Linked DNA regions of Homo sapiens: all the other regions are linked to region 1. The links are contacts of gene promoters, found by promoter capture Hi-C in blood cells and fetal thymus (Javierre and others, 2016). All regions are on one chromosome and are shown on one strand. The core of a region is centred on a gene start or on the middle of the fragment in contact, and the rest is flanking DNA. Distances in the headings are between cores, read along the strand shown.

Region 1 (2,796 bases), core at 191-2,690:
CCCCCGGGGCCGCCGCCGCGCTTAACCCCCTCCACGCCGTGCTCACGGCGCCCGGCCGCGCCCGGGGAGGGGCTCCCGCGGCCGGGGGCGAAAACTGCGCTCCCGGGGGGTCGCGGCCGGGATTCAGCCTCCCACCCCGCCCGCGCGAAGCCGCTGGAGGGCACAACAACGGGGCGGGGAGGGGGGTAAGGGCGCAGCCGCGCCCTGAGCGCTGCGGGCCCTTTAATGCCACGGGAGGAGGCGGGAACCCAGCGAGGCCCCCGAGGGCTGGGGGGACCGGCCGGCCGGACAAAGCGGGGCCGGGCCGGGCCGGGGCGGGGCCGTGCGGGGCTCACCGGAGATCAGAGGCCCGGACAGCTTCTTGATCGCCGCGCCGTTGGCGCTGGCGGCCGCGGTGCCGGCCGCGGGACGTCCCGAAATCCCCGAGTGCAGCTGGTCAGCGAGAGGCTCCTGGCCGCGCTGCCCCTGGTTCGCGCCCTGCTCGGCGCTCTCTTGAGGCGCCGCGTCCGGGGCCGGGGCCGGGGCGGGGGCCGGGGCCGGGGCCGGGGCCGGGGCTGGGGCCGGGGCCGCGACTGGAGCCGGGGCCGGAGCCGGAGCCGGAGCCGGGGCCGGGGCCGGGGCCAGGACCGCGACCGCGACCGGAGCCGCGACCGGAGCCGCGACCGGAGCCGGAGCCGGGGCCGGGGCTGGAGCCAGGACCGGGACTGGGGGCGGGGTGGACGCCGGGGCCGGGACCGGGACACTAGGCAGCTGCTCCGGCGCCTCCTCGAGGCCGTCGAGGGACTCAGCGGCCGGCTCGAGGGGCGGGCTGACAGCCACCGCGACCGCGACGGGCCGCGGCGCCAGCAGCAGGCGGCAGCGCCCCACCTGCACCGTCTCGCGGTAGAACGCGGGCACCGAGTCGCTGTCCACTTCGGTCCACTGCAGGCGTCCAGGGCCCCGCAGCGGCATGTCCTGCTGGAAGTCGTAATCCCAGCGGTTCTGGTCCTCGGCGTTCAGCTCGGCCAGGCGGGCCTGCAGCTCGCGGCTCAGCTCCTCGTGGTCCACCGGCCCGAAGAGGCTGCGGCAGGCGCTGGTGCGCACTAGTACTGGGAAGGTCCCACGGGCGACAAGACGCTCCATCGTGGATGTGCTGCGGAGGGACGCGTCGGACATGGCCCGGGGCTGCGCAAACGCGGGCAGCGAGAGAGGAGAGGACAGCGAGAAGAAGGGGAAAGGAGAGGAGGAGAGGGCGGAGGCCGGGCGCAAGGGAGACCCCGCGCCGCCCGACTCTGCGTGTGCGAGGGACGCGGCGGCTACCTGGCTGTCCGGTGGTGGACTCTTCTGCGTCGGGTTCGCCTGTCTCGTCCGGACGGCAGCCGCGCCCCCTCGATGCCTGCTGGCTAGCTCGCTCGCTCAGGCCTGGCCGGCACCCCTCGAGCACAGCGCACTTGGCCTGTGGAACGCCCAGCCCGCCTGCGCCCCCTTTATACGCGCGGGCCCCACCCCCGTGCGCGCGGGCCCGGCCGCGATTAGCATAATGTAGTATTTTCAGTTTCAACAACACCACGGCGATTGGCGGCCGCCCCGCTGCCCCGCCCCGCCGCGGCCCGGCCCCCGCGCACCGCCCATTGGCCGCGCGCACACCCACCGGGGGCGGGGCGGGGCGCGCGGCCGGGGCGCGCGGCTGATTGGCGGCCGCGGGGCGAGCGCGCTGTAGCAGGGGAAGGGGGCGGTGAGCGGGGCGGGGGCGGGAGTTAAAGGGCGCTGCGGGCGGTAACGTGACACCGCGACGCCCGCCCCCTCGCCCCATCCCCCCTGCAACACTCCCCCACCCCCCCGGCTCCCGCCCCCCGCCGGCTCCTTTGTCTGCAGGCGGGGGCCTCAGCCCAGCGCGGCAGGGGCCGGCTCCTGGCGGGTCCGGTGTCCGGCCAGGCCCAACTCGACCCCGGCCCGGTCCGGACCCCGGCGCCCAGCTCCGTCCCGCGCTCGCCCGTGGGCCTCCTGCGCCAGCTGACGAGGCTTGGACCCGCCGCTGCCAGCTCGGCCCTGGCCTGCGCCGGATGGGGTCTTCGGCTGCCCCCGCGCGGCCTGCTGCTGCTGGGCTGGTGTCCCTTCGAGGGCTCCGCGCGCCTGGAGCCCTCACACACCTGCTGGCCCTAAGGCCCTCGAGTCGGGAGGGGGGACAGGGGTCAGCTCCACTCTTTCCCCGAGGGACCATGTGTGGGACACCTTGAGAGACTCCCACCAGCCCCCTGGAGCTGGAGTCTGAAGCCGCTATCTGCGGAGGCCCACCCTGCCCAGTAGATGGAACAGGGGCTGAGCCCATCATGTCACTGTCGGGGGTCCCAGCCCTTCTCAGCCTTGGGCCAGACCACTCCAGCCCCGGGATCTGCCTGTCCAGGCTGGCTGGAAGCTGTTGTACTGGGTAAAAGTGAAAGATCTGCCCGAGGTCATAGGGGAAGGGGCTGTGAAGGACCATGCCCCTCCCCCGCCTGCAGCCCTTCCTGGTACAGACCTCGGTCGTGCGCGCACGCACACACACACACACACACACACGCACGCACACACACGGTGCTTCACCCCAGCCAGGCCAGACCAAAAGAGACCATTATTTCCTGCTGCCTCCCTTTTGGCCCACCTACCATGAGGCAGGGAGCCCCCTCCTCAAACCAGGAGCCTCCCAGATCGGGATGGGGACTGTCAGACACCTGTTGGAGGGTCCAGCAGCCCATGAGATCTAAGCCCCTATCTCAGGTGAGCCTGTGAGCCAGCAGAGAGACCTCTGGGAGGGAGGGAAGGTGCGGTCCCCTGAAC
Region 2 (2,796 bases), core at 157-2,656, 440 kb before region 1:
CTGGGCTGGACTCCGTCCACGATAAAAGAGCAGACTTTTGGCAGGGGGTGGTAGATACATCAAATTGACCCAGGGTGCTCAGGGACGACCTGGAAGTGTCACATGAGTTATGGGTCTCCTGGCGGGGCGGAGAGTCACCGCTGAGCTCCACCTTTAGTCCCTGCCTCAGGGCTGTGTGCAGTATCCTGAAAAAAGCCGGTCTCTTCTGTTGGCTGCCCCCCACCCCCCCCCCAAGCCTGAGACGTGCTGAGACCCAAATGCCAGTAGCGGGCGGGAGGCAGTGCAGAGACCTGTGAAAATCTTCCGATGTGACCAACCCACCCCCACCCAGGGGAATCCACGGGGCGCAGCGGCAGCGCGGTCTCGACGGTGGGGAGGACAAGGCGCCCATTCTCCAAGTTACTAGGGTGGCGCAAGCGCCTCTCCCTTTAACTGCCCAGGCAGCCCCGCCTGCTATGCCCGGCAGTCAAACCAGGTCCAGACCCCGGCTGTGCCGCCCCCACCCCCCAGCAGCCCTGCCGGCTCCCCACCCACACAGCTCCCACTGGGAGGTACCTGACAGTGGTGGTCCCATCTCACCCTCCCGGTCCAAGGGCCCTGGTGGGAAGCGACCCGAGCGTATTCGCCGCCCGCAGCTCGCGCGCCTGGGCACCCGGGGGCGCTCACAGTGATCGCGGGGCCAGCACACCCTCACCCAGGACATCCCTTTCCTCCCCCCAACCCCAACTCCGGAGTGGCTCAGAGGGAGGGAAAGTAGATGCCGGCACCCTACCCCGCCCCTCCTGCCCCCGCTGTGCCGTTCTCGGTCGTGGTATCGGCCAGGCCTTACCCCTTCCTCCCTGGCGCAGCTGGGGTCCTCCTCCGGGCCAGGCAGAGCAGGCGGGCATCAGAAGTGGGGGCCAAGCAGGTGGGTGAGGGCAGGGCAGGAGCAAGCAGGGGAGATGCAGACGGGGCGGGGCCAAGCAGGTGGGTGAGGGCGGGGCCAAGCAGGTGGGCGGGGAGGGGGCGGGGCCAGGCGGGGTAAATGCACACTGGAACGGGGCCAAACAGGTGGGCGAGGAGGGGGCGGGGCCAAGCGGGATAGATGACACGAGCGGGGCTAAGCAGGTGGGCTCGGGCGGGGGTGGGGGTGGGGGCGGGGGCGCAGGCGGGGGCGGGGGCGCGGACAGGCCAAGCCAGGGGGTGAGGCGGAGGCAGGGCCAGGCCGGTCCGTGGGGAGAGGGCGGGCCAAGCCGGTGGGCGCGGGCAGGGACGCCCTGTGCGCGCCGGACCGGCGGGGGCGGGGCGTGCAGGCGGGGGCGGGGCACGCCGTCCCATGGGACCGGCCCTCGGCCACTGCCCCCTCCGGCCCCGCCCCGAGCGCCCGGGCTGGGCCGGCAGCGGCCCCCCGCGGCGGGGCTGGCAGCAGTGGCTGCCCGCACTGCGCCCGGGCGCTCGCCTTCGCTGCAGCTCCCGGTGCCGCCGCTCGGGCCGGCCCCCCGGCAGGCCCTCCTCGTTATGGCCGCGGCCTCCTCCCCGCCCAGGGCCGAGAGGAAGCGCTGGGGTTGGGGCCGCCTGCCAGGCGCCCGGCGGGGCAGCGCGGGCCTGGCCAAGAAGTGCCCCTTCTCGCTGGAGCTGGCGGAGGGCGGCCCGGCGGGCGGCGCGCTCTACGCGCCCATCGCGCCCGGCGCCCCAGGTCCCGCGCCCCCTGCGTCCCCGGCCGCGCCCGCCGCGCCCCCAGTTGCCTCCGACCTTGGCCCGCGGCCGCCGGTGAGCCTAGACCCGCGCGTCTCCATCTACAGCACGCGCCGCCCGGTGTTGGCGCGCACCCACGTCCAGGGCCGCGTCTACAACTTCCTCGAGCGTCCCACCGGCTGGAAATGCTTCGTTTACCACTTCGCCGTGTGAGTATCGCCACCGGCGACGGCCGGCACGAAGGTGCTTCCTGAGAGCTGGTGTGGGGGAGCTCTGTCCCAGCGCCACCTGCCCCGTCGGAGCTGCGACCCCGGAGCAGAGGAGGGAAGGAAGTGGGGAAACGCAGAAACACAAACTCTGCACTCTCCCTTGAAGTTCAGAGGCGCTGCTGTGTCTGGGGGTGCGCATCTTCTCGCAGGCCCGGCGTGGGGAGGGAGCCGGCTGGGGAGGGGACCACCTGGAGCCCAGAATTTGGCTCCACACCTCCGGGAGGGTAGTCCAGGTGTGAATCCTTCTGGGAAGAGAAGCGTGCTGGGGAGCGCACCCTTGGGTGCAGTAAGATAACTCCTCAAGGTCGGCTGAGACTCGAGGCTCAGGAGCCCCCAAGAGAGAAGGCCCCTGATGTCCGGTGCCGCATCTCAGACCCCCTGAGGCCCAGGTGGACTCTGGGGCAGGGGGCTGTCCAGGATAGGAAGGTGACGGTGGCGGTGCTCCCTGAGGGCTCAGCATGCCACGGGCCGTCCCCACGGGCCCCACATTAACTAATTGAACCAAGCTCATGAAAACCTGGCTTGATGCAGAGAGCGGAGAGGCACGTTTGCAGCTCTCACTAAGAGGCAGCTGTGCTCCCGGAGAAAGCAGCGCTGGTAGCAGAGGCACCTGGCCCCCCTGTTACCAGGTGGTTCCAATTCCCGGTACAGCGTGCCTGAGCAGGGCTGGGCACTGGATTTCTCAGGGACAGGCCTGGGAAGTCACCTCCGGGAAGGTCCAGGCTGCTCTCCTCCATGCCTGCCTGGGGCCTTCCCCCGCTGCCCCAGTGGCCCTACTTCCTGGCTGCCCAGCCAGCGGCCTTTTGGTGTGGTGCCAGCCTCTGGCCTGGGAGCCTCTACCCAGACATCCCAT
Region 3 (2,796 bases), core at 192-2,691, 400 kb before region 1:
GGCTTCCAGCTTGGCTTTTCTTTTTCAATATTGCTTTTGGCTATTTTAAGTTCCTTGAGATTCCATATGAATTTTAGGATGGGTTTTTCTATTTTTGCAAAAAGTGTCATTGGGATTTTGAGAGGGATTGCACTGAATCTATAAATCACTTTGGGTAGTATTGATATCTCAACATTGTCTTCTAATCCATGAACATGGGATATGTTTCCATTTATTTGCATCTTTTTAAGTTTCTTTCAGTAATGTTTTGTGGGTTTTGCTGCAGAAGTCTTTTACCTCCTTGGTTAAGTTAATTCCTAAGTATTCTACTTGATGCTATTATAAATTAAATTGTTTTCTTAATTTCATTTTTAGATTGTTCATTGTTAGCATATAGAAATGCAACTGATTTTGCATGTTTACCTTAGATTCTGTAACTTTGCTGACTTCATTTATTAGCTCTAATAAGTTTTTGTGGAATCTTTAGGGGTTTCTACATATGAGATTATGTTATCTGTGAATAGAAATAGTTTTACGTCTTTTTTTTCCATTCTGGATGCCTTTTATTTCTTTTAATTTTTTTCTTGCCAAATTGCTCTGGCTAGAATTTTCAGTACAATGTTGAATAGAAGTGGTGAAAGTGGTCACCCTGGCCTTATTCCTGACCTTAGAGGGAAAAATTTCAGTCTCATCATTATGATGTTAGCTGTGGATTTTCACATATGGTTTTTATTATGTTAAGGTAGTTTCCTTCTATTCCTAGTTTGTTGAGAGTTTTTAATAAGGATGTTGAATTTTGTCAAATGCTTTTTGTATCAATTGAGATCATGTGATCATGTGAGTGTTATTTCTTCATTCTGTTAATATGCTCTTTTACATGGATTTATTTTTGTATGTTGAACCATCCTTGCATTCCAGGACTAAATCTCACATGGTCATGATATGTAATACTTTAACTATGTTTCTGAACTCAGTTTGCTATTTTGTTGAGAATTTTGCATCAGTTTTCATAAGGGATATTGGTCTGTAGTTTTCTTGTAGTCTTTGTCTGGCTTTAGTATCAGAGTAATGCTCTCCTCATAGAATGAGTTAGAAACCTTTCCCCTCCTCTTTAATTTTTTGGGAAAGATTGAGAAGGATGGGAGTTTATTCTTTAAATATTTGGTAGGATTCATTGGGGAAGCCATCAGGTCCAGGCTTTTCTTTGTTGAGAGTTTTTTGATTACTGATTCAATCTCCTCACTAGTTATAGGTCCATGAAGATTTTGTATTTCTTTGTGATTTAGTTTTGGTAGGTTTCGTGTTTCTCAGAATTTGTCCATTTCATCTAGGTTATCCAATTTGTTGATACACAATTGTTCACAATACTCTCTTATAATCCTTTTTATTTCTGTAGAATTGATAGTCATGTCCCTATTTTCACTTCTGATTTCAGTAGTCTTCTCTCTTTTTTACTTAGTCCATCTAGCTAAAGGTTTGTCAATTCTTAAAATCTTTTCAGAGAAGCAACTTTGATTTAATTGATTTTTCTCTATTGTTTTTCTATTCTCTATTTTGTTGGTCTCTGCTGTGGTATTTATTATCTTCTTTCTTCTGCTAGCTTTGGGTTTAGTTCTTTTGCTAGTTCCTTAAGTGGTAAAGTTAGGTTATTTACTGGAGATCTTTCTTGTTTATTAATGTAACAATTTATAGGGAGGGAGTGGAGCAAGATGGCCAAATAGAAGCCTCCAATTGTCCTCCCCAACAGGAACACCAAATTTGAGAACTATCTACACAAAAAAGCACCTTCATAAGAACCAAAATTCAGATAAGCAATCACAGTATCTGCTTTTAACTTTATATTGCTGGAAGAGGCACTGAAGAGGGCAAGAGAGACAGTACTGAATCACTGACAGCACTGTGCCTCCCATCCCCCAGCTATGTGGCATGGAGAGAGAATCTGAGAGCTTGGGGGAGGGAAAGTGCAGTGCTTTGGGACTGTCCATCGAGCTCAGTGATTCCCTGTTGCCACAGAAAGCAGAACCAGGCTAAATTCAGCCCACACCCAGCACAGAGGGAGCATTTAAACCAGCCCTAGCCAGAGGGGAATCACATATCTCAGGGGTCAGAAACTGAGTTCCAGAAAACCTTGCCACCACGGGCTAAAGTGCTCTGGGGTTCTAAATAAACTTGTAAGGCAGTCTAGGCCACAATAACTGCAATTCCTAGGCAAGTCCTATTGCTGAGATGGGCTCAGAGCCAGTGGATGTGGGGGGCACACAACCTAGTGAGACACCAGCCAGGGTGGCTAACCCCAGGCAGCACAGCTCACAGAAACAAAAGTGACTCTTTTCCTCTGCTTAAAGAGAGGAGATGGAGCAGTAAAGAGAACATTGTCTTGCATCTTGGATACCAGCTCAACCACAGTAGGAGAGGACACTGGGCAGAGTCAATGGGCACACATTTCAGGCCCTGGCTCTTGGACATTTCCAGACACACCCTGGGCCAGAAGGGAATCCACTGCCTTGGAGGGAAGGACCTAGTCTTGTCAGAATTCATCATCAGCTGACTAAAGAGCCCTTGGACCCTGAACAACCAGCAGTGCCAGGTAGTATCCTGTGGGCCTTGAATGAGATTCTGAAATATACTGGCTTCAGGTACCAGCTTGACCACAGTGGGGTAGAGCACCAAATGGGCTCTTGGGGTCCCTGATTCCAGGCCTTGGCTCTTGGACAGCATTTCTGGACCTGCTCTAGGCCAGAAGGGAGCCCACTGACCTGAAAGGTGAGTCCACAGCCTAGAAGCCTTCACCACAAGCTGACTGAAGAGCCCTCAGGC
Region 4 (2,796 bases), core at 1-2,500, 380 kb before region 1:
CTATTTCTCCCTTCGGTTCTGTAAATTTTTCCTTTGTGTCTTTTGATCGTTAGCTGTTAGAGGCATAAATGTTTATAATGGTTATCTGTAACATCTTCTTGCAGCCTCGAACCTTTAAGTGTGCAGCGTCCTCTTTTGTCTCTTGTGACCTTTCTAGGTTTATTATAAAACCATTTTTGGCTGATGTTAGTGTAGCCACTCTGCTTTTTGTGTTTGCCATTTGCATGGAACCTCTTTCTCCACTCTTTCCACCCTTTCACTTTCAATCTTTTTGTGTCTTTGGCTCTAACGCGAGTCTCTAGTAGACAGCATGTAGCTGGATCATGTTTATCTATTCTGCCACTGCCGATATCACCTTTTGATATACAGACTTTACATTTTCATAAAATTTAATTTGTCCACGTGCTTAGCCCCTGTGATCCAGCAATCCCACTGCTAGTTATATATCCAAAAAGAAAGAAAATCAGTCCAGCAGGGACAGATGCGCACTCCTACGTTTACTGCGGCACTGTTCACCGGAGCCTGTGCCTTCAATGTCGTATTCAAGAAATCATCCTCAAATCCAAAGTCTTTCTATTTTCTCCTATGTGTTCCTATTGCTTTAGGTCTTACATTTATACCTTTGACCCATATTGAGTTAATTTTTTATATCCAGCTTTATTCTTTTGCATGTAGATACTCAGTTATCCCACCATCATTTGTCGAAAAGACTATACGTGAACTTTTTGAATTTGCTTTTCTCACGTAATAGTATTTCCTAGAGACCACTACATATCAGTTCGTGGGGTCCTTCCATATTCTTTTTTACAGCCACCCCATACTTTATGGTTGGATGTGCCATGCTTATTCAAACCCTCTCCTATTTATGGGCATTTAGGTTGTTCTGATATTGTGCAATGATAAATAATGTTGCAAAGTATAGCCTTATACATATGTCTATTGTATTCTTGAAACAATGTTGCAAAGAATAACTTCGTAGGTATGGATGTTCCTATTGTTGGAGGTGTTATCTTCAGGGTAGATTCCTAGAAATGGGAGTGTTGGGCTGAAAGAGAAGCCCGTAGTTTTGTTGGATGTGACCAAATTTCCCTGCAGAACGGTTGCACATTTGCACTCCCCCAGCAATGCATGAGCATACCGGTTTTTTCTACAGTTGCGCCAGCAGCGTGCTGTCACACCACTTTTTGCCAGGTCCATAGCTTTGTTTTAATCTGTATTTCTGTAATTACATTGAATTTGAATGTTTTCCCTGTGTCTAAAAGTCATGTGTGTGTGTATTTGTAAATCGTCTGTCTTCTCATTTCCAACTTCTTCCATTGGGTTTTTGGTTCTTGGTCTCTCAATTTTTAAGTCATTTATATTGTGGGAACGTTTGTCTGGACTAATGTGAATTGTTTTCCCAGCTGGTCACTTGTCTTTGACTTTGCTTATGGTGCTTTTTGCTATGAGAAATTTCGCATGTTTATATCATCAAATTTATCATGCTTCTTTCTACTGACTCCGGATTCAGGGCCACAGTTGAGAGCTTTTTCCTCCACCGAGGTTAAGGGGAATCCACTGTGTTTTCTTCTGGAGGTTTGGGGTCTTGTCTTCAGCATTTAGCTCCTTGTCCGTTTGGAGTTTGCTCTTGTGCATGATCTAAGGTAATCTTTTCTCAGAGAGTGGCCTGAGACCTCTTCCTTAGAAGTTCACCCCACTGGCTGGGGCCTTCACGAGGCCCCTCTGGCCTCTAAGTGGAGCATGGAGTGTGGGGTCATCGGGCAGGACACGAGATGCGCAGGAGGCTGTGACTGAGGTGGCTGTGGGATGGGACGGCGTGGTTTGCTCTAGAGGGTTTGAAGGAAGGGTGAGAAGTCAGGACCACTGCTGTAGAAAACAGGGTTTGCAGGTAGATAAGGTGGCGGGTGCAGCGGGAGGAAGAGAAAAGGATGCTGCTGGGACCCCTCGCACCTGGGAGGATGCACTTTCTGTTTCTGACATGGGTCAGGGTTGGGGCGAAGGAGTCCAGCTGGGGACATGTTATTTTGGAGGTGTTTGTGAGGCAGCCAGGTGAGGTGGGTTGAAGGCAGTAAGACCTGCAGGTGGGAGCTCTGGGGAGAGAGTGCGGGCTGGGCTCACAAGTTAGGGGAGGTGTCAGTGTGTAAATGACATGAGCGCAGGGGCTAGACAGGGCCTCCTGTAGCCTGGGTGGGTGGAAGGGCAGAGGGCAAGGGCCAAGTGATGGCAGCTGTGGAGGCTGAGGGCAAGGAAGGCAAGTCCGGGAGGTTGGGTGTCCTGCAGCCTCCACAGGGGCAATGGAGGAAGAACAAAGGACTCTGTGTTGAGCCCTCCTGAGAGGTTTTGGAACTGGCCTTGACTTGGTGATGTGGGGTTATGAGTTTTATTCCACACACGTATGTGGGAGTCTGGGTCCTGGTGGGTCCCAGCCCCGTACATGGAGGCTGGGACCCTGCCCTGAAACCTCTCAGACACAAACACCCAGCTCGGCCCCACAGAGCTGGCCTGGGCCCCAGCAGGGGTCTGTGTTGCCTTGGCCCCACGGCAGTGGAGCTGGGGTTTCCCAGGGATGCTGCTGCTGAAGGTGAGGTTTGCAAACACTAGGCATGCATGTTTGAGGTACCACAACCTCCACCAACCCATGGTGGTCACCAAGGGTCTTTGGGCTCCTGTGGGGACCATACTGGCTTGTCTGACTTGCCGTTACCCGGCGGAGATATGTCTTGGAAAGACTTTAGGCCAGGAGCCCATCATTGTCCTGGAACCTGGGCTTGGCAGGGCAAGCTTTGGGGAGCACTG
Region 5 (2,796 bases), core at 1-2,500, 310 kb before region 1:
AGCAAGCCCAAGCTTGAGCCCAGCCTGGATGCTCCACCCCAGCCTGGTGCCAGTGACCCTGGCCTGCCAGGCTGATGGTGTGCTCACCTTCCTCTGAGCTGGGGGCAAATGAAGACAGAAAGTCAGAAATGAAAAACCCAGGCAAATCAAGGACCCGGTCAAGGCAGGGCCACCAGACTCCCTCCCGAGGGCTGCACTCAGATGGGTTCAGGCTGCACTGGCCCCTGGCTCTGTGGGGTGAGGGGACCCTTCCTCTCCCTGAGGATCTCCTGGGTCCTGGTCCATTCTTGGTTCTGTCACGTGGCAGGAAAGAGAGCTGGGCAATCAGTGGAGCCCGCGCCGGCCCAGACAGTGGGCCTAGGGCGACCCCAGGGCTGAGCCTCATTCTGGGGGTAACCCCCACCCGCCACTTACCGGAGTTGTGAGGAGTGGGCTATATTGAAGCCGGCCCTGTGCATGTGAACCGCGCTGGAGCGGCGTAGGACGCCCAGTGATCGCTGGGACTCGCTGCCTTAGGCGTCTGCACAGGAGGCTCCCAGCCTGCGGTTCCTGGAGCCCGACACTGTGTGTTTTCTGGCCTAGGAGCTGATAACCACCCTGTACATCGGCTTCCTGGGCCTCATCTTCTCCTCGTACTTTGTGTACCTGGCTGAGAAGGACGCGGTGAACGAGTCAGGCCGCGTGGAGTTCGGCAGCTACGCAGATGCGCTGTGGTGGGGGGTGGTAAGTCGGAAACTTCCAGGCATGGGGACAGGGGCAGCTCAGGCTGAGGAGTGGGCAGGACATCTGGGCACTGGTGTCTTGAGACTTCGGGCCTTGGCAGGGGCTTCTCACCTGCACGCTCACAGGCCTCTGTCCACAAACCTGTGCTTGGAGCCGCTGGCACAGGTCCCCACGCTCAGTGTTGAGTCCTTTGGCATCACCATCTTGAAGTTCTGAATGGTCTCATCCTTGAACTTGAGATTTGAGAGGGAAATCGGAGGGGTCACTGGAGCGTGTGTTGGGGGCTTAGCGGTTTCGGCTCCCCCATGGCTCTGCCTCCCGCCATCGTCCTAGGTTGCCCATTCCCTGCCTCCACCGTGGCCCTCACCCTGGCAGGGCCCAAGGAGAGCGGCGTCAGATGCATACCTCGCGTGTCTCTGAGGGTCCACACAGGCCCTGTAAGTGCCCCTGTCCCCAAGGAGCCAGACATGAGACAGCAAACAGGAAAGACCATGATGGCTCAAGAGACCCCAGCAGAGATCAGAGAGCCCCCGTGTTTCCAGTGGATGCTGGGCCTGCAAGTTCTGGAGCCGGGCCTGGGCAGTGGCGACATAGGTGCAGCTGGGCCTAGGGAAGCAGGGACCCGGCCTGTGGGCCCAGAGGCTGCCCCTGGCTGTGAAGGTGGGTTCCGGCCACCTAGAGCAGCCCGGGAGCCTTGGGGAAGCCGGTGTGCAGCAGGCAGATCCCGCACTGGAACACCGAGCCACCCAAAGCTCAGAGAGGCTGTGCGGGAGGGGTGGGGCAGGGTGTCTTGGGCCGTGTCTGTGGGGGCTTCCTTGAGGGACTCAGGCTTGCACGTGGGAGAGGGAGATGTTCCGATGAGGATGCAGCTGCAGGAATCAGGGTGCGCCCTCCGAGCTGCAGGCTCCCCAAGTCCCAAGTCACTGGCCTGTGGGCCCAGCAGCAGTTTCTCATGGCTCAGAGGACGCTGGCTGAGGCATTTTTAGGGGGCAGGCCTAGCTTGCCAGTGTCCCTCTGGGAGCTGGTGGCTGCCTTCAAATCCTCCAGTGAAAGTCGGCGTTTATATATGCATGGAGCTCAAGGGCTGCTTCTAGGGGGAACACGTGGGTACCCCGAGGGGAGTAGCTGGCTGGAGGCCAGAGTGCAGGGAGGGAATGACTCCATCCCATCTCCCCCCACAGCTGCAGGGCCAGGTGGGCCGTCCACAGGCCACTAAGGCCCAGGGTGGCACCATCACACCTTGGGGAGTGGCCCTGGGTGGGGACCGAGAAGCCCAAGTGCCGAGGTGACAGGGTGACCCCTACTCTGCCGCCACAAGCCTGCCCCCGCGTCTGCCCTTGTCTACCGACCTCCGGGCTCACTCAGTCCGATAACAGGTTAGATGGAATCGTGGTAGCAACAGGGGCTGGGGGCTGGGGAGGAGGCCGTCGAAGCCCACACAGGGTGGGAGCCAAGGCCTGGGGGCCGCACGGGGGCTGGAGGTGGGGGCGGGCAGGGCAGCCGTGGGAAACACGTGGTGGTGCCAGGACCCAGTCCGTCTGCCCCGAGTCCTCCTTCCAGAAAGGACCGGACTTGCTGGCTCTCGGGACCCCCCACCACCATCAGAGCATATCTGGGTGGGGTGAGAAGCCTCCCGGTGGCTCCCCAGGCAGGCACGTGTCCCTGCGATTGCTGTGCCTCCTCCCTCCCCCTCAACCGCCGCTTCCCCCATGAGGCCAGACACTCAGCAGTGGCTCCTGACGTAGGCCAAGTCAGCAGGTTTTCTGGAAGCTTCCAAAGTGCTGCAATGCTCAGGGATGGCAGGGGCATGCTGACACAGCTCCTGGGTTGGGGCAGGCCCCACTTTCGGCCTCTTCCCGCCTTCCTGGGGGCCTGTGTCCCCGAAGGCCCCAGTGTGGCAGGCCTGAGCAGGTTTGGGCAGCAGGGCCCAGCCCCCCTGCGGGAGCCTGCCTGCAGTGAGTGTGGATGGGTAGGGCGTGCTCGGGGGATGGACGGCCCAGAGCCAGGAGAGTTCCCGGGAGGCTGGTGGCAAGGTGGGCAGTGAGGAGCTGGCGGTGCAGCAAAAGCCAGTGG
Region 6 (2,796 bases), core at 197-2,696, 290 kb before region 1:
CTAGGTATTTATCCAGGAGAAATAAGATCATATGCATGCCACCATTTGTACATGGAATATTCATAGCAGCTTTATAAAAACTGGAAACCCCAAACTGGAAGCAACCCAAATACCCATCAACATTTGAATAGATTTTTTTCAAAGTTGTAGTATATTCCTAAAATGGAATACTACTTAGAAATACAAAGGAATGAACCACTGATATGCCTACAATATGGATACATTGCAACATAATTATGGTGAGTGAAAGAAGCCAGACAAAAAAAAAAAGAGTACATGGTATCTTATTTATGTAAAAATCTAGAAAATGACCACTAATATAGAGTGACAAACAAGTCAGTGGTTATCAGTGGTTACCTGGGGATCAGGGGTAGTAGTAGGAGGGAAAAGGACAAAAGGGCACAAAAAAACTTTTGGGGCAGTGGATATGTTCATTATCATAATCATGGCGATGGTTTCATCATGTGTCAAAAGTTACCAAATTGCACACTTTAAACATAAGCAAGTTATGTCAATTATATCTCAATAAAACTGTTTATAATATATAATGTAAATATATAATATATATTTTGCATAGCAAAAAAACATACTGAAAATAATTTTTTATTGATAACCTAAAGAAACCAGTTGCCACTCACCTATAGGCATGGGGCTAATTTAATTGCTATATAAAAACGCTCTTGTAAATCAAGATAGAAGTTAAAGGATATTAAAACAGTTCACAGAAAAGGAAATACCAATAATTCTTAAGAATGAAAATATGCTGGATGACTTCAATTATGACAAGAGAAATGCAAACTAAAGCAATGGGGTTTTTGAAACTTATCTGATTATTAAATATCAAAGAGTTTGATAACACTCTATGGGTATGTGTACATGGAAACTCTCAGTCTCAGTCATTGATGTTAGAAAAATAAATTGATACAAACCTCTGTGGAGATAAATAAGGCAATTTCAATCAAAATTAAAGATGCATATGCCTTTGAATCATTCTAGAAATTTATTCTACACATATCTTACACATTTGCAAAATAATCCATCATCAGGATATTGATTTCTGCAATTGTTAAATAGCAAAAAATTGCAAACCACCGACATACCCATCAGTGGAGGTCTGCTTCAAGTATCATATCTCCGTTAAACAGCCATCAAAACTGTGAAGCTTCACTCTCATCACTGATGCAGGACATCCCTGATATCTGATCCTAGAAATAACAGTACATCTTTCAGAAGAGTATGAAATCTGCCATCATGTGGGGGCAAATACAATGGTTTACAAAACAAAGTTTTATCTACCTTCCTTGTTCTGTGTCTTGGAACTGTTTGAAGAACATTGGGATTATCTTTTCTGTAGAGGTTAAATAGAATTGAGTTGTAAAACCATCTGGGCCTGATACATGTTTTATAGGATATCTTTAGTAATTTCTTTTTAGTCTGTTTTATGATATGTTGTTCTAAATTAGTTTATTGCATCTTTTGGAGTAATTTATTCATTGCTATTTAATTTCCTCAAGCATTTCAATTGTGTTGCCACTTGGTAGCAACTGATTTTTTCCTTTAGTGATTTTATGGTCTTCTCTATCATCTCTTCGTTTTTCTTTTCCTTTATGCCTGAACTTTTGTGGTTTTTCTCCTTTTTTCTTAATCAAGCACATGAGAAATTTATGTTTTATTTATATTTTATTATCAGAAAACTATCTTTGTACTCTTTGTTATCTATTTCATTAATCTAAGCTTTTATAGCTATTAATTCCCTTTTCTTGGCTAACTCTATTTTTGTTTTCTTTTACTTAAGAGTCATAGTTCATTTATTTGAAGTTCTTCTACTAAAGGCATTTTTAAAGGCTATAAATTTTCCTCTGATTGCAGCTTTAGCTGTGACACGTAGATCTGATTATGAAATATGTTCCTTTTCATTGCTTTCTTGATAGTTTTAATTTTGTGTTTTGATTTTTCTCTTTAGAGTTCTTTTAATGTCTTCTTAATTTTTAAGCAGTAAATTTTTATCACTGTTATTTATTTCTAATTTAGTAGGCTTACAGTGAAAGGATGTAGCCTATGAAGTCTCCACTTTTTTTAAAATGAAGATTTTCTTTGTCTCCAAGTATGAAAATAACATCATTATTTTTGTAAATGCTCCACAGACCTCAGAAAATATCTTCTGTATTTGTATAACACAAAGTTTTATTTGTATACATGGACAGACAAAATGTACATTGAGATGGATTGTGTATACATACTTATTCATTGCCTCATTTAGGTCTGCTCTGCCCTTAGTTAAAAAAAAAAAACCCTAATACATCTGCCAAATTCTGAGACAGGAAAATTAAATCTTCCTGTACAATTATGTTTCTAAAAATTGAGTGGCAGGTTTCATGGAGTGGTTTGGAGCACAGCCTATATGGCCAACCTTCTTTAGGGTCATAGCCCAGCTCTGCCATTTTCTTATGTGGCCCTAAGCAAGCTACTGCATTCTCTGTGCCTCAGTTTCCACATCTGTGAAATCAGGATCCTAACTGCCTGCTCCCAGGACTCCTGTGTTGACTGAGTGAGTTAGAACATGTAAGTGCTCACCCAGGACCCATATGCAGCAAACAGTCTTGTGTCTCTGTCTGCTGCCAAATTGGCCTCAGGCTCTATCAATACCAGATCTGAATAGGGGCTATTCTTTCTTTTAGTGTCCTTAATGTTGTATTACTTTCCAATATTCACACTTTAACTTTACAGATGAGTAGAATGGAATAGATGTGTTTCAGTACAGAACTTTTTTCTTATGTTTGCTTGGGCTCCCCTCCT

What was found. Contacts are between HindIII fragments. The CHiCAGO score rates a contact against its expected background, and 5 or more counts as called.
Region 2: the fragment with the promoter of KCNQ1 here is called in contact with the fragment with the promoter of CDKN1C in region 1 in 17 of 17 cell types (neutrophils, M0 macrophages, M1 macrophages and 14 more); the score reaches 15.7 in neutrophils.
Region 3: a contact is called between a fragment that was not itself captured here and the fragment with the promoter of CDKN1C in region 1, in 3 of 17 cell types (M0 macrophages, naive CD4 T cells and M1 macrophages). The highest score is 5.3, in M0 macrophages.
Region 4: a fragment that was not itself captured here is called in contact with the fragment with the promoter of CDKN1C in region 1 in 9 of 17 cell types (erythroblasts, M1 macrophages, M0 macrophages and 6 more); the score reaches 10.2 in erythroblasts.
Region 5: a contact is called between a fragment that was not itself captured here and the fragment with the promoter of CDKN1C in region 1, in 2 of 17 cell types (erythroblasts and M0 macrophages). The highest score is 7.4, in erythroblasts.
Region 6: a fragment that was not itself captured here is called in contact with the fragment with the promoter of CDKN1C in region 1 in 4 of 17 cell types (M1 macrophages, M0 macrophages, erythroblasts and 1 more); the score reaches 6.9 in M1 macrophages.

The regions. Positions count from the first base shown.
Region 1 is chr11:2,884,335-2,887,130 of GRCh38, forward strand. CDKN1C (cyclin dependent kinase inhibitor 1C) reads right to left here and starts at 1,441. Exons shown (of 4, transcript NM_001122630.2): 1 at 1,300-1,441; 2 at 336-1,132. The coding sequence starts at 1,122. RefSeq lists enhancers at 431-1,266, 1,267-2,102, 2,103-2,796. The HindIII fragment of the contact is 9,568 bases long and covers 1-2,796 here.
Region 2 is chr11:2,443,602-2,446,397 of GRCh38, forward strand. It overlaps KCNQ1 (potassium voltage-gated channel subfamily Q member 1), which reads left to right and starts at 1,407. Exons shown (of 16, transcript NM_000218.3): 1 at 1,407-1,883. The coding sequence starts at 1,498. TRPM5 (transient receptor potential cation channel subfamily M member 5) reads right to left here and starts at 913. Exons shown (of 29, transcript NM_014555.4): 1 at 830-913. RefSeq lists silencers at 1,207-1,316, 1,327-1,396. The HindIII fragment of the contact is 13,739 bases long and covers 1-2,796 here.
Region 3 is chr11:2,487,309-2,490,104 of GRCh38, forward strand. The region is part of intron 1 of KCNQ1 (potassium voltage-gated channel subfamily Q member 1); the gene reads left to right. Among named protein-coding and RNA genes, the nearest start is that of KCNQ1, 44 kb to the left of the region's middle. The HindIII fragment of the contact is 3,569 bases long and covers 1-2,796 here.
Region 4 is chr11:2,505,593-2,508,388 of GRCh38, forward strand. All of the region lies in intron 1 of KCNQ1 (potassium voltage-gated channel subfamily Q member 1), which reads left to right. Among named protein-coding and RNA genes, the nearest start is that of KCNQ1, 62 kb to the left of the region's middle. The HindIII fragment of the contact is 3,057 bases long and covers 1-2,779 here.
Region 5 is chr11:2,572,264-2,575,059 of GRCh38, forward strand. KCNQ1 (potassium voltage-gated channel subfamily Q member 1) reads left to right here. Exons shown (of 16, transcript NM_000218.3): 6 at 583-723. Among named protein-coding and RNA genes, the nearest start is that of KCNQ1OT1, 130 kb to the right of the region's middle. The HindIII fragment of the contact is 2,481 bases long and covers 11-2,491 here.
Region 6 is chr11:2,596,331-2,599,126 of GRCh38, forward strand. The region is part of intron 10 of KCNQ1 (potassium voltage-gated channel subfamily Q member 1); the gene reads left to right. Among named protein-coding and RNA genes, the nearest start is that of KCNQ1OT1, 100 kb to the right of the region's middle. The HindIII fragment of the contact is 572 bases long and covers 1,161-1,732 here.